Regions from separate parts of the Homo sapiens genome. Here region 2 is linked to region 1. The links are contacts of gene promoters, found by promoter capture Hi-C in human tissues and cell types (Jung and others, 2019). All regions are on one chromosome and are shown on one strand. The core of a region is centred on a gene start or on the middle of the fragment in contact, and the rest is flanking DNA. Distances in the headings are between cores, read along the strand shown.

Region 1 (5,557 bases), core at 1,444-3,943:
TCTTTGATCCACTCAAGGTGGGGAGGGATGGCATCAATGAGTAGTCTCTGGGCAAGACAAAGAGCAGAGAGTTACCCCTTAACAGTCAGGCCTGTTAAGCTTTTTTTTCAGAGCTCACTGAATGTGACCATACTTACAGAGGGTTTTCTGAGTTAGGCCTGCTGGACTTGCATCAGAAATTCCCTCAGAGATCCCCTCCACATATACAAACACACACACAAAGACAAGACGGACAGAAGGCCTTCCAAACCAAGATCCCTAACCAAGAATTCCAAGAGTATTCCTTCCAAACTATCCTATTCTCCATCTGAGAAGTCTCCCCGAAATCTTACTGATTGAGGAGAAGTCTCCAGAACCAAGACTCTTCCTACTAATTAGGGAGAGTAAACCGAGACCCCTGAAGAAGCTGAACCAATTGGGAGAAGGAAAGGGGTGTTGGCAGCACCTAGACTACTCACCAAATCAGACACCCCATAATGGGGCTGCAGCTGCAGACAATCCATGATGGGGCTACAAACAGACACTGTGATAAGGTTACAGTTACAGGCACCCCATGGTGGAGCTACAGAGGGACACCTTGCCATGGAGCTCTAGTTATGAGATATCTCCCCAGGACAATTTCTCTATTGCAAAGTGTACTCCATACATATTGGGCTAGTAGTGCCCTGCCGATAGAGATGACGCCAGAGTCAGCCCCCAGTCCAAAACTAGGTGGCCGCTTGGGCTGGCCTCTGGATCCATCGCCAGAGGGGGTCTACAGAACCGGGGCAGGTAGCACAAGAGCAATCCCGAATGAGCCCCCAAATTTTTAACTGCTCAACTGGTTCACCATGCCCACTACCTACACAGCTGATTTATCAAAATAGGGGAATTGCAATAGAGAGAGTAATTCATGCAGAGCCAGCTGTGCAGTCTGGCTGAGTTTTATTATTACTCACATCAATTTCCCCTAGCATTCAGGGATCAGAGGTTTTTGGGGTTTTTGTTTGTTTGTTTTTGAAATGGAGTTTCGCTCTTGTTGCCCAGGCTGGAGTGCAATGGCACAATCTCAGCTCACTGCAACCTCCGCCTCCCAGGTTTAAGCGATTCTCCTACCTCAGCCTCCCAAGTAGTTGGGATTACAGGCATGCACCACCATACCTGGCTCATTTTGTATTTTTAGTAGAGACAGGGTTTCACCATGTTGGCAAGGCTGGTCTCGAACTCCTGACCTCAGGTGATCCACCCGCCTCAGCCTCCCAAAGTGCTAGGATTACAGGTGTGAGCCACTATGCCCCACCTTGGAGATCAGAGTTTTTAAGGATAATGTGGTGGGTTAAGAGAGGCCAGTATGCCAGGAGTGCTGATTGGTTGTGTTGGAGATAAAATCATAGAAAGTCAAGGCTGTCTTCTTGTGCCAAGTCAGTTCCTGGTTGGGGGACACAAGATCAGATGAACCAGTTTATCAATCTGGTGGTGCCAGCTGATCCATCAAGTGCAGGGTCTGCAAAATATCTCAAGCACTGGTCTTAGGTTTTACAATAGTGATGTTATCCCCAGGAGCAATTTGGGGAGGGTCAGAATCTTGTAGCCTCCAGGTGCATGACTCCTACGTGTCTAATCTTGTGGCTAATTTGTTAGTCCTACAAAGGCAGTCTAGTTCCCAGGAAAGAAGGAGGTTTATTTTGGGAAATAACTTATCTTATTTTTTAAATTAATTAATTAATTTATTTATTTTTGAGACAGAGTCTTGCAGTGTCACCAGGCTGGAGTGCAGTGGTGTGATCTGGGCTCACTGCAACCTCCACCTCCCGGGTTCAAGCGATTCTCCTGCCTCAGCCTCTCGAGTAGCTGGGATTACAGGCACGCACCACCACGCCCGGCTAATTTTTTTGTATTTTTAGTAGAGACGGGGTTTCTCCATATTGGTCAGGCTGGTCTCGAACTCCTGACCTCAGGTGATCTGCCTGCCTTGGCCTCCCAAAGTGCTGGGATTACAGGTGTGAGCCACCGCGCCCGCCCAGGTGATTGTATTTTAAGAGCCTGGGGCTGGGAGGTCCGGGTACTAGTCCCATCTCTGCTTTGGCTTTCTGGATGGCTTTGGACAAGCCAGTGCAACTTCTCGAACCTGTTGCCTCTCATATAATAGGAACCTCCGCCACTTCTTGAAAACTTACTACAAGCCAAGTATTGTGATCAGGGGTTTCTATACGTCATCTCACAGTTCTATTTTATTTTTTTGCTTCAGAGAGAAACAAAAATAACGCTCCGGAAGACTGAGTAACGTATATATGAGCAGGAGCTGGTGACTGGCATAGGCTGGACTCGATCCAGCTCTGTGATTCTAACTCTAGCAACCCTGTTTTTTCCATTACACCATAGGGCGCGCTCTCCCCATGCTCCTGAGAGCAGGACATAGACTATGCCCTGCGCAGGCAGCCGTCCGCCTCCTGCAGGGAATGCTTGCTCCTGGGTGCACGCACGGATACCGCGATGGTCCGAGACCACGCTCTGGGACAGCAAGCCTCAAGCCTCGCACAGGAGAGGGCCGCGGAGCTTCCTCGACCCGCCCCGCCGCCCTTCCCGCGGGAGGCCCCGCCCCCGCCCCCCGCCCCGATTGGCTGTCGGGAGAGAGGCGGGGCCTAGGGGATTGGCTGCCCGGCGACCGCGGGCTGACGTGGCGGGGCTGGCGTGTGGGTCTCGCAGCGTTGCTCACAGAACAGAGTAGAGGCGGCGGCGGCGGCGGCCGGACCCAGACTGGTAGTGAGGCTTTGGACCCCGAGCCGCTGCAATGCCGCTGGAGCTGGAGCTGTGTCCCGGGCGCTGGGTGGGCGGGCAACACCCGTGCTTCATCATTGCCGAGATCGGCCAGAACCACCAGGGCGACCTGGACGTAGCCAAGCGCATGATCCGCATGGCCAAGGTGAGGCGGCAGCTCCCGGGACCCGGGATTCGGGCGCCGGGAGGGGCGGGGCGGGGCCGCGGGGAGCCAGGGCCACACGGCCTCCGCGGCTGGGTACCCTGGTCCGGCCTCTTCCCGCCCGCCAGTTCCGTTTTCGGAATCCTTCGGATCCCTCTTCCTCACCGTGTCCGCCACCCTCGTGACCTTTCTGCATTACAGCAGCTGCCTCCTAACCCGACCTGTTTCCTCCCCGTTCTGGTGCCAGAATAATCTTTCTAAAAGTCAGACTTGATCAGACCATCCCCCCTGCCTGGCACCTTCTGTGGCTCCCTCCTGCCCGCGGGTAGAGTCGAAACCCTTTAACATAGCCTTCAAGATTTTAATGACTGGGCCCCTTCCAGCCCGTCATAATTCTTCTCTGACATTCTTCAGCGACACAGAGTTACTTTCAGGAATGACAGTTCCTGGAAGTTGCTGTGGTCTCTCTCACCCGCCATTCCCTGTATATGAAATATGAAGTGGTTAAAAGCCGGGCCTTTGAGTTCAAATCTCAGTTCCACCACTACTAGCTGTGTGAACATGGGCTGCTTACTTAGCCTCCGTGAACCCTTTTCCCCATTTGAAAACGGGGCTTGAAAACAACAGTTCTTTCCACATGGAGTTGTTATGGGGATCAAATGAGATTCTCAGATAGAGCTCTGAGCCCAGCACTTGGCACACATGAGTCGGTAAATGCGTGCTCCCTCTTCTGTTGGGACTGCCATATTCTTCATTACGACCCCAGCCCCCAGCATAAGGCCTGGCCTGCACTATGATTCTTTGGTTTAGAGATAGCTCACCCCATCTTTCCTTTCCCTTCATCAATGCTACTCAACTGATTTTGTATCATTTGTGATAGGTTTTTTAAATGTTTATTTATTTATTTATCTATGTTAGAGACAGGGTCTTGCTCTGTCACCCAGGCTGGAGGTTTTCTCTTACTGTTTTTTTTTTTTTTTCCTGGTTTTTTTTTTTTTTTTTTTTGAGACAGGGTCTCTGTATCACCCAGGCTGGAGTGCAGTGGCATGATCCCGGCTCACTGCAACCTCTGCCTCCCAGGCTTAAGTGATTCTCCCACCTCAGCCTCCCGAGTAGCTGGGACCCACAGGCGTGAACCACCATGCTGGGCTAATTTTTTTGTAGAGATGGGGTTTGGCCATGTTACCCAGGCTGGTCTCGAACTCCTGAGCTCAAGCAATCTGCCCACCTTGGCCTCCGAAAGTGCTGGGATTACAGGTGTGAGCCACCACCCTCGGCCCTTGCTGTTCCTTCGGGACTGGTTTTATGGAAACCTAATCACTGAATCATAAAAATACTTTACAAAAATAACATTGCTAACATTTTTTGAGTGCTTACTCTACCAGGTACTAAGCTAAATGCTGTACATGCACCATCTCATTTAATTTTTACAACAACCCAATGCCATGATGCTGCCGATTTCATTTTAAAGGCTAAGAGAAAATAAGTGACTTAGGCAAGGTCACATAGCTAGTATAATAAATACAGTAAGGGGTTTTTTCAGTTTTTGCTCCTAAGCCACAGGACTCCAGCCTTTCTTCTGCAACATTGTTTTCTAGAGGGAAATTCCCACTCTTAATTTGAAGGAGCAGTCTGTTTTTCCTCTTGGAATGCCGAAGTTGTAGAAATATCTAGAGATACTGAAGCCATAGAAACAAAGCTGTACTGACCAGGTGCAGTGGCTGATTCCTGTAATCCCATCACTTTGGGAGGCTGAGGAAGGCAGATTGCTTGAGCTCAGGAATTCGAGACCAGCCTGGGCCACATAGCGAGACCCTGTCTCTAATTCCATTGAGCTGGAATCTAGGTGGCTGCAGCCTTTAGGAAAGGGATCTGGCCAGCTCTGCTAGAGACACTGTGCAACTTTAGTCAGGTCAGTCTGGGCCTTGGGATCTTCATCTAGACAATGAGAGCTCTGTTGCCCAAGGTCACTTTCAGTTCTAATGTTCTTTGAACTTTCCAGCATCAAGTCCTGACTCTACCATCTTATGATTTGTCTAAGAGCAGGAGTAGTGATCTCAGCACTGACATTTCTGGACCCAAGAAGTTTTTATTTTTTTTTTTCAAGACGGAGTCTCGCTGTGTCACCCAGGCTGGAGTGCAGTGGCGTGATCTCGGCTTACTGCAAGCTCCGCCTCCTGGGTTCACACCGTTCTCCTGTCTCAGCCTCCCGAGTAGCTGGGATTACAGGTGCCCACCACCACACCTAGCTAATTTTTTGTATTTTTAGTAGAGACGGGGTTTCACCATGTTAGCCAGGATGGTCTCGATCTCCTGACCTCGTGATCTGCCCACCTCGGCCTCCCAGAGTGCTGGGATTACAGGTGTGAGCCACTGCGCCCGGCAGCCAAGAAGTTTTTAATAGCATGAATACCTCTGTGTCTACAGAAATGGCCGTGAGATGGGACTTTAGTGGGTTTTAATTACTCTTTTTCTTGAGTAGATTGTTTTTGTTTGAGTCAAGGTCTCACTCTGTTGCTCAGGCTGGAGTGCAGTGGCACCATCATAGCTCATTGCCACCTCAACCTCTGGGGATCAAGCGATCCTCCCCCCTCAGCCTCCTGAGTAGCTGGGACTACAAGCGTATGCCACCATGCCTGGCTAATTTTTATATTTTTT
Region 2 (5,557 bases), core at 1,592-4,091, 92 kb before region 1:
AAAATAAACGAGTGAAAATTTGAGCAGATTTCAGCTCAGTTTCAGGAAAATATTTCCAATTGTCAGAACTGTGACTTCTGGTGGTCCAACCTGCTGAGGCAGTGCAGAGTTTAGTGGAGACCCTGGAGGAACGATGTCAAACATGCCCCTAAGCCAGTCTGCTCAAATATTGATTGTCTCCCCAGTGGTGGATAGCTAATTCAAAGTGTGTAGGCCCTGTACTTGCTGACCCCGTTTAGCTTACAGGTTCTATATTAAGTGTCAGACTCTTCTCATTCTAGCTCAGCATTCCAATTAAATAACCTTGGCTCCTTGCATGTGGGAAACAGGTTTCAAGCACAGAACCCCTAGCACCAAGCAGAATGGCAACATAATTTTAGCTCCTGAGCAAAACGTGTCTCACAATAGCGTCAGTACAGTGTGCACATTAACATTTGAATATGCTGTATAATAAGCGTGCTAATTACTCTGAGAAGAATACTTAAAGAATAAAATAAGCTGTGATCATTAGAGGAGAAGGGGGTTAGCAATTTATGGCATGGGCTGCTGCTTGATATTCAAAAGTACATGATGGCTCTCATCTCAGGTAAAAGGGAATTATTGAAACCATAAAAATGTAATGATCGTGGCAGATAGTGATCAGCATTTTATAGGAAATGTTTGTGGCAGAGTCTTTTTTAAAAAACACTTTCAGATTTACTACTAATAAAATGTGTCCCCATTTGGTTGTTTGGTTCCTTTGAGCAGTTTGAAATGTGAAGCCATTGTTGTAGCGTTAATCTCAGCTTTGTGGAAATGGCTGATGGAGTCTTCACCCAGATGAGCAGCTGAGATGGGGAGCCCTCAGACTGGACACGGGCCTGATAATCACCTTGCCCGAACAGAAACTGGAAAGGGGAGCTGGAACCACACTACTTGATGACCTAGACCTGCGGTTTTCAGTCTGGTCTGCACACCTCTTGGGGGTCTTAATACTCTTTCAGCAGGTTCATTAGGTCAAAATTATTTTCACAATAATATTAAGATGTTGTGTGACTTGTTCACAGCATTGAAAGACTACATATTATATAATTACATTTATATGAAATGTCTACAAAAATTAGCCAGGCATGGTGGCGCATGCCTGTGGTCCCAGCTACTTGGGAGGTTGAGGTGGGAAGATCACTTGAGCCCAGAAGGCAGAGGTTGCAGTGAGCAACCTCTGCCCTCCACTGCACTCAAGCCGGGGTGACAGAGCCAGAGCCTATCCCCCCCCCAAAAAAAGAAAAGAAAATAAAAGTCCATAATAGGTAAACCCATAGAGATAGAAAGCAGATAGTAGCTGCCAGGGACTGGGGGAGGCCAGAATGGGGAGTGATGGCTTAATGGGTACAGGGTTTCCTTTTGTGATGAAAATGTTCTGGAACTAGGTAGCAGTGGCATTTGTACGACACTGTGAATGTACTAAATGCCATTGAATTATATACTTTAAAATGCTGACTGTTACATGAATTTTACCACACACACACAAAAAAAATGTGAAGGTCGCATATTGTAGTGCATGGGAGCTTCTTCCCATCCAGAACAGAAGCTTCTTGAGGGTCTTCTAATCTTGGAAGTTCTCTTTGTTATGTGCTGTTTGAAACCAGCACATGGAAGTTCTCTTCACCACAATTCTTTCAGTAGCTACAATTCTTAAAGTAATGAAACATTTTCCCTAGTTCCCCAACACACTAGGTATTTTAAATCTACTTCTTTTAACCCTGTCTCTGCTAGTTTCTGTATCTGAAATATCTTCTGTCAACCTGGAAAGCTACTACTACCTGGCCTTTGAAACCCATCTAAAATGACACTCCCTCTGCAAAATCTTCCTGGGCCACCACGCACCCCAAGAATTGGTCCCTTCTGCCTCTCTGGATTTCTACAGTACTTTGGTTCTATTCCTTTTAACATAGTCCTGATACAAGGCCTTATCACATTGAATCACAGTTAGAACATATCACTTTTTGTTAATGTCTGTCTCCCCAAAGGTGACTTGTAAGAGCAGTATTTTCTTATCCCTAAAGCACAATGCACACACATACACAAACACACGCATACTCCAAATGTGCTCATTAACAACTATATGTTAGGTACTTTTTTAGAGGCCTTAGAGACATTAACTCATTTAATCCATATAACCTTATATACATTTTATTGATGATTCAACTCAGGAAACAAAAACTTTCAGGTTGTAAAGTGATGTTAAAACAGAAAATCCATGTGATAGCAAAACCAAACTTGGCACATGGTTGCTGCACATGGTTGCTGCCTGTTTTCTCTAACAATAGAAAAAAATGGCTAATAATATTAAGTAAATGGAAGAGACTTTATGACTTAAGTGACATTTAGGAAGATGTTTCCATACTTTTCAGACTTCATAGTGTTAGAGCTGAGAGGGACCTTGGGGATCTCCTGGTGCGAGTTAAAGGTAAGGCAGGGAAAATAGGGCTTGCCTGTACCAGAATAATCCTGTAGAAGAAATCCTGTAGAAGAAACAGGAACCTAAAGCTTAAGAGGAGGGATCGGGAGGAGGAAAAGAAGCCAAGAGAGAGAAGGCATTCATCAAGGAGAGAAAGGATAGTTAAGACAGTTATTCAGCTAGCACCTTAGAAACCCTGCCCAGAAGAGGGCCAGGCATGGTGGCTCACACCGGTAATCCCAGCACTTTGGGAGGCAGAGGTGGGCGGATCATGAAGTCAGGAGATCGAGACCATCCTGGCTAACACAGTGAAACCCTGTCTCTACTAAAAATACAAAAAATTAGGCAGAGCTTGCAGTGAGCCGAGATCGTGCCACTGCACTCCAGCCTGGGTGACAGAGCAAGACTCCGTCTCAAAAAAAAAAAAAAACCATTCATTTGTTGATTTTGTTGATTTTGTTTTTGTTTTTTTTAACCCATCCTTGCTCAAAGAAATAAAATACATTCATTTGTAAGTAACTAAAACACAACCAACAGACTGACCTAACAACAAAAGTTCACACTAAAAGTCCAGGGTAATTCAGGCTCCAGGCTTGGTTTGATTTAGCAGATCACCAATGTCATTAAAGCTGACTTTGATGTGAGATGGCTGCCAACAATTCCCAGAGCTACATAAGTCCTTGTCCATATCCAGATAGACAAAGGTCATTTCTACAAGCCTCTCTCTCAGGAGCCCCTAGAGAACCTCTGTTAATCTAAACTGAGTCATATGCCTACAGTGGCTATGTGGGGCCTTGCCCAGTGCCCCTCTTCCCTGCAGATACACCCATCCTTCAGCTGCAGGGGATATTACTGCTCTCAGCCTCAGGAAACCATTTCATGTTCTCCTAGGGTACAGCCTGAGGCCAGTGACAGGCTGATGTGGGAATACACTTCAACTTAGGACAACTCTGAAGGGCTAGCCCAGCTCCTGGGCTCCCAGTGGGACCAGAGAAAGCCTTCATTGTAACTACCCAGCAACTATTTTGCTGGTCAGCTTCTCTCTACACCCAACCCTGTCTTCTTTACTTCCTCACAGTTGTATGTCCTGAGAACACTTTTCAATAAACCATCTGCATGCCATGCACAGTAGTGCATGCCTATATTAGGTACAGATGCAATTCTGTACCAGCTACTCAGGAGGCTGAGGCAGAAGGATTGCTTGAGCCCAGGCATTCAAGTCCAGCCTGGGCAACATAGCAAGACCGTGTTTCAATATTTAAAAAAAAGAAATAAGAAAAAATAAAAATGAAAAAAAAAAACCCTTCTGCATGCAACTTTCCATCTTAAATTCTGTTTCTGGAGAACTCAATCTAAGATAGTGCTCACTTCTGAATCAATAAGTGTGACAAGATGTGGGACTATGCTGATAAATTAGGATTAATTGCATGCCCTATCCTAGAGTTGGAATCAACCTCTGTTGCTTAGAAATTAGCATTATAGTCTAGCGTGTCAGAGCTGGAAGAGTTTCAAAGATCATGCAGTCCTTCTCCTTTAGCTAATAGAAGACACAGAGAGGGGATGGAACCCACCTAAGTTACACAGTTAAACTAGGACCCAGACCCGGATGTCTTTATTCCAGAGCGGAGTTCTTTCCACTGTAACCCATTTCCCATTTTTGGTCATTAAGCAGAAATGGCAATCCATCTATCTCAAAGTGACAGGACTGCCTGTCTAACGGACCTCAACATTCTCACAAATAGGTGGTAGACAATCTCTGCACCCCATTCCTTTTCAGCAGCCTAATTTATAGACATATTTTTATTTTATTCCACTCAGGATTTAAAAATATTTTTTGAAAGAGTAATGTGTTCATATGGTTCAAAAAATATTTTTAAGTATAAAAAGGTATGCACTAAAAAGTTTCACTCCTACTTCTTCCTCATCCCACCTACTCCCCTCCCACAGGTAATTTCTCTTATTCAGTTTCTTATGAACCATAACAAGAACTTTGAAATCAATTGTTCTGATTACCAAAACAGTCTGGAGGAGTGGCGATACTGCGATGTAGAGAGCCTCAGTGAATGAAAGAATGAAATATTGACCAAGTCCAAATTCAGTGTTCTTTCCATAATATCACCATGCTTTTAAAAAGACCTGAGGTGTGTGGTGAGAGCTTAGATACCAGAAGTAGGATGAAAGGTGTAAGTTAGCCTGGAAGACAGGCTGAGCTATTGAACCAGGGCCCTTTAAATTCCCTGACTTGACAGAGCCTGCAGAGGGGCTGATTGGCCCGAGCTGTGAAGAGAAGAGGAACTCAACAGGCAGGTGTTTGCATTGAAATAGGACTTGACTCATCCTGCATCTTCATGTAATACACCTAGTCTGTCACAAAGCCTTGTCAAGTCTTCTTGTGAAATATTTACCCTATCTGTCCCTAACTTTCTCTTCTCACAACAAAAAAACATACTCCAGACTTCAGTCAACTCACACATGGGTTATTGACACAGGCTTTTTTTTTTTTTTTTTTTTTTTGAGAGGAAATCCCACTCTGTTGCCCAGGCTGGAGTGAAGTGGCACGATCTTGGCTCACTGCAACATCCACCTCCGAGGTTCAAGCAACTCTCCTGCCTCAGCCTCCTGAGTAGCTGGGATTACAGGCGTGTGCCACCACGACCAGCTAATTTTTGTATTTTTAATAGAGACGACAGGGTTTCACCATGTTGGCCAGACTGGTGTCAAACTCCTGACCTCAAGTGATCTGCCCGCCTCAGCCTCCCAAAATGCTGGGATTACAGGCGTGAGCCACTGTGCCCGGCCGCCACAGGCTTTTAATTGGTCTCCTGGTACAGAAATAGCTTTAACCTAAATGAGCATGTATTGCATCCAGTTTCCATTTATAGCTTATATGTAAATTACGTTGGTCCTTTAAAAAGCCTAGTTCTTTCAACTTCCAACTCCATATAGTGGCAACAACTCCATTAGCGTGTTAGTTAAAAGGGTCAAAGAAGATTTGCTCCAGCTCAGAAACAAGGCTGATCACCAGAAAGATGAGACTTGCCCAGCAAATGAATAAACAAATTGTTTATCCATTGTTAATTGTTTATCCATTATTTTCCCACTGTTGCCGGGCGCAGT

Evidence for each region. The method cuts DNA at HindIII sites, captures the fragments that hold promoters and counts their contacts. A contact is called where the count stands out against the background at its distance.
Region 2: a fragment that was not itself captured here is called in contact with the fragment with the promoter of NANS in region 1 in 2 of the 25 tissues and cell types used here (small bowel and spleen).

The regions. Positions count from the first base shown.
Region 1 is chr9:98,054,039-98,059,595 of GRCh38, forward strand. It overlaps NANS (N-acetylneuraminate synthase), which reads left to right and starts at 2,694. Exons shown (of 6, transcript NM_018946.4): 1 at 2,694-2,902. The coding sequence starts at 2,771. It also overlaps a transcript of TRIM14 not described here. RefSeq lists enhancers at 2,203-2,252, 3,293-3,412 and silencers at 2,443-2,792, 2,873-3,042. The HindIII fragment of the contact is 24,529 bases long and covers 1-5,557 here.
Region 2 is chr9:97,961,953-97,967,509 of GRCh38, forward strand. No RefSeq gene overlaps it. Among named protein-coding and RNA genes, the nearest start is that of ANP32B, 19 kb to the right of the region's middle. The HindIII fragment of the contact is 6,260 bases long and covers 1-5,557 here.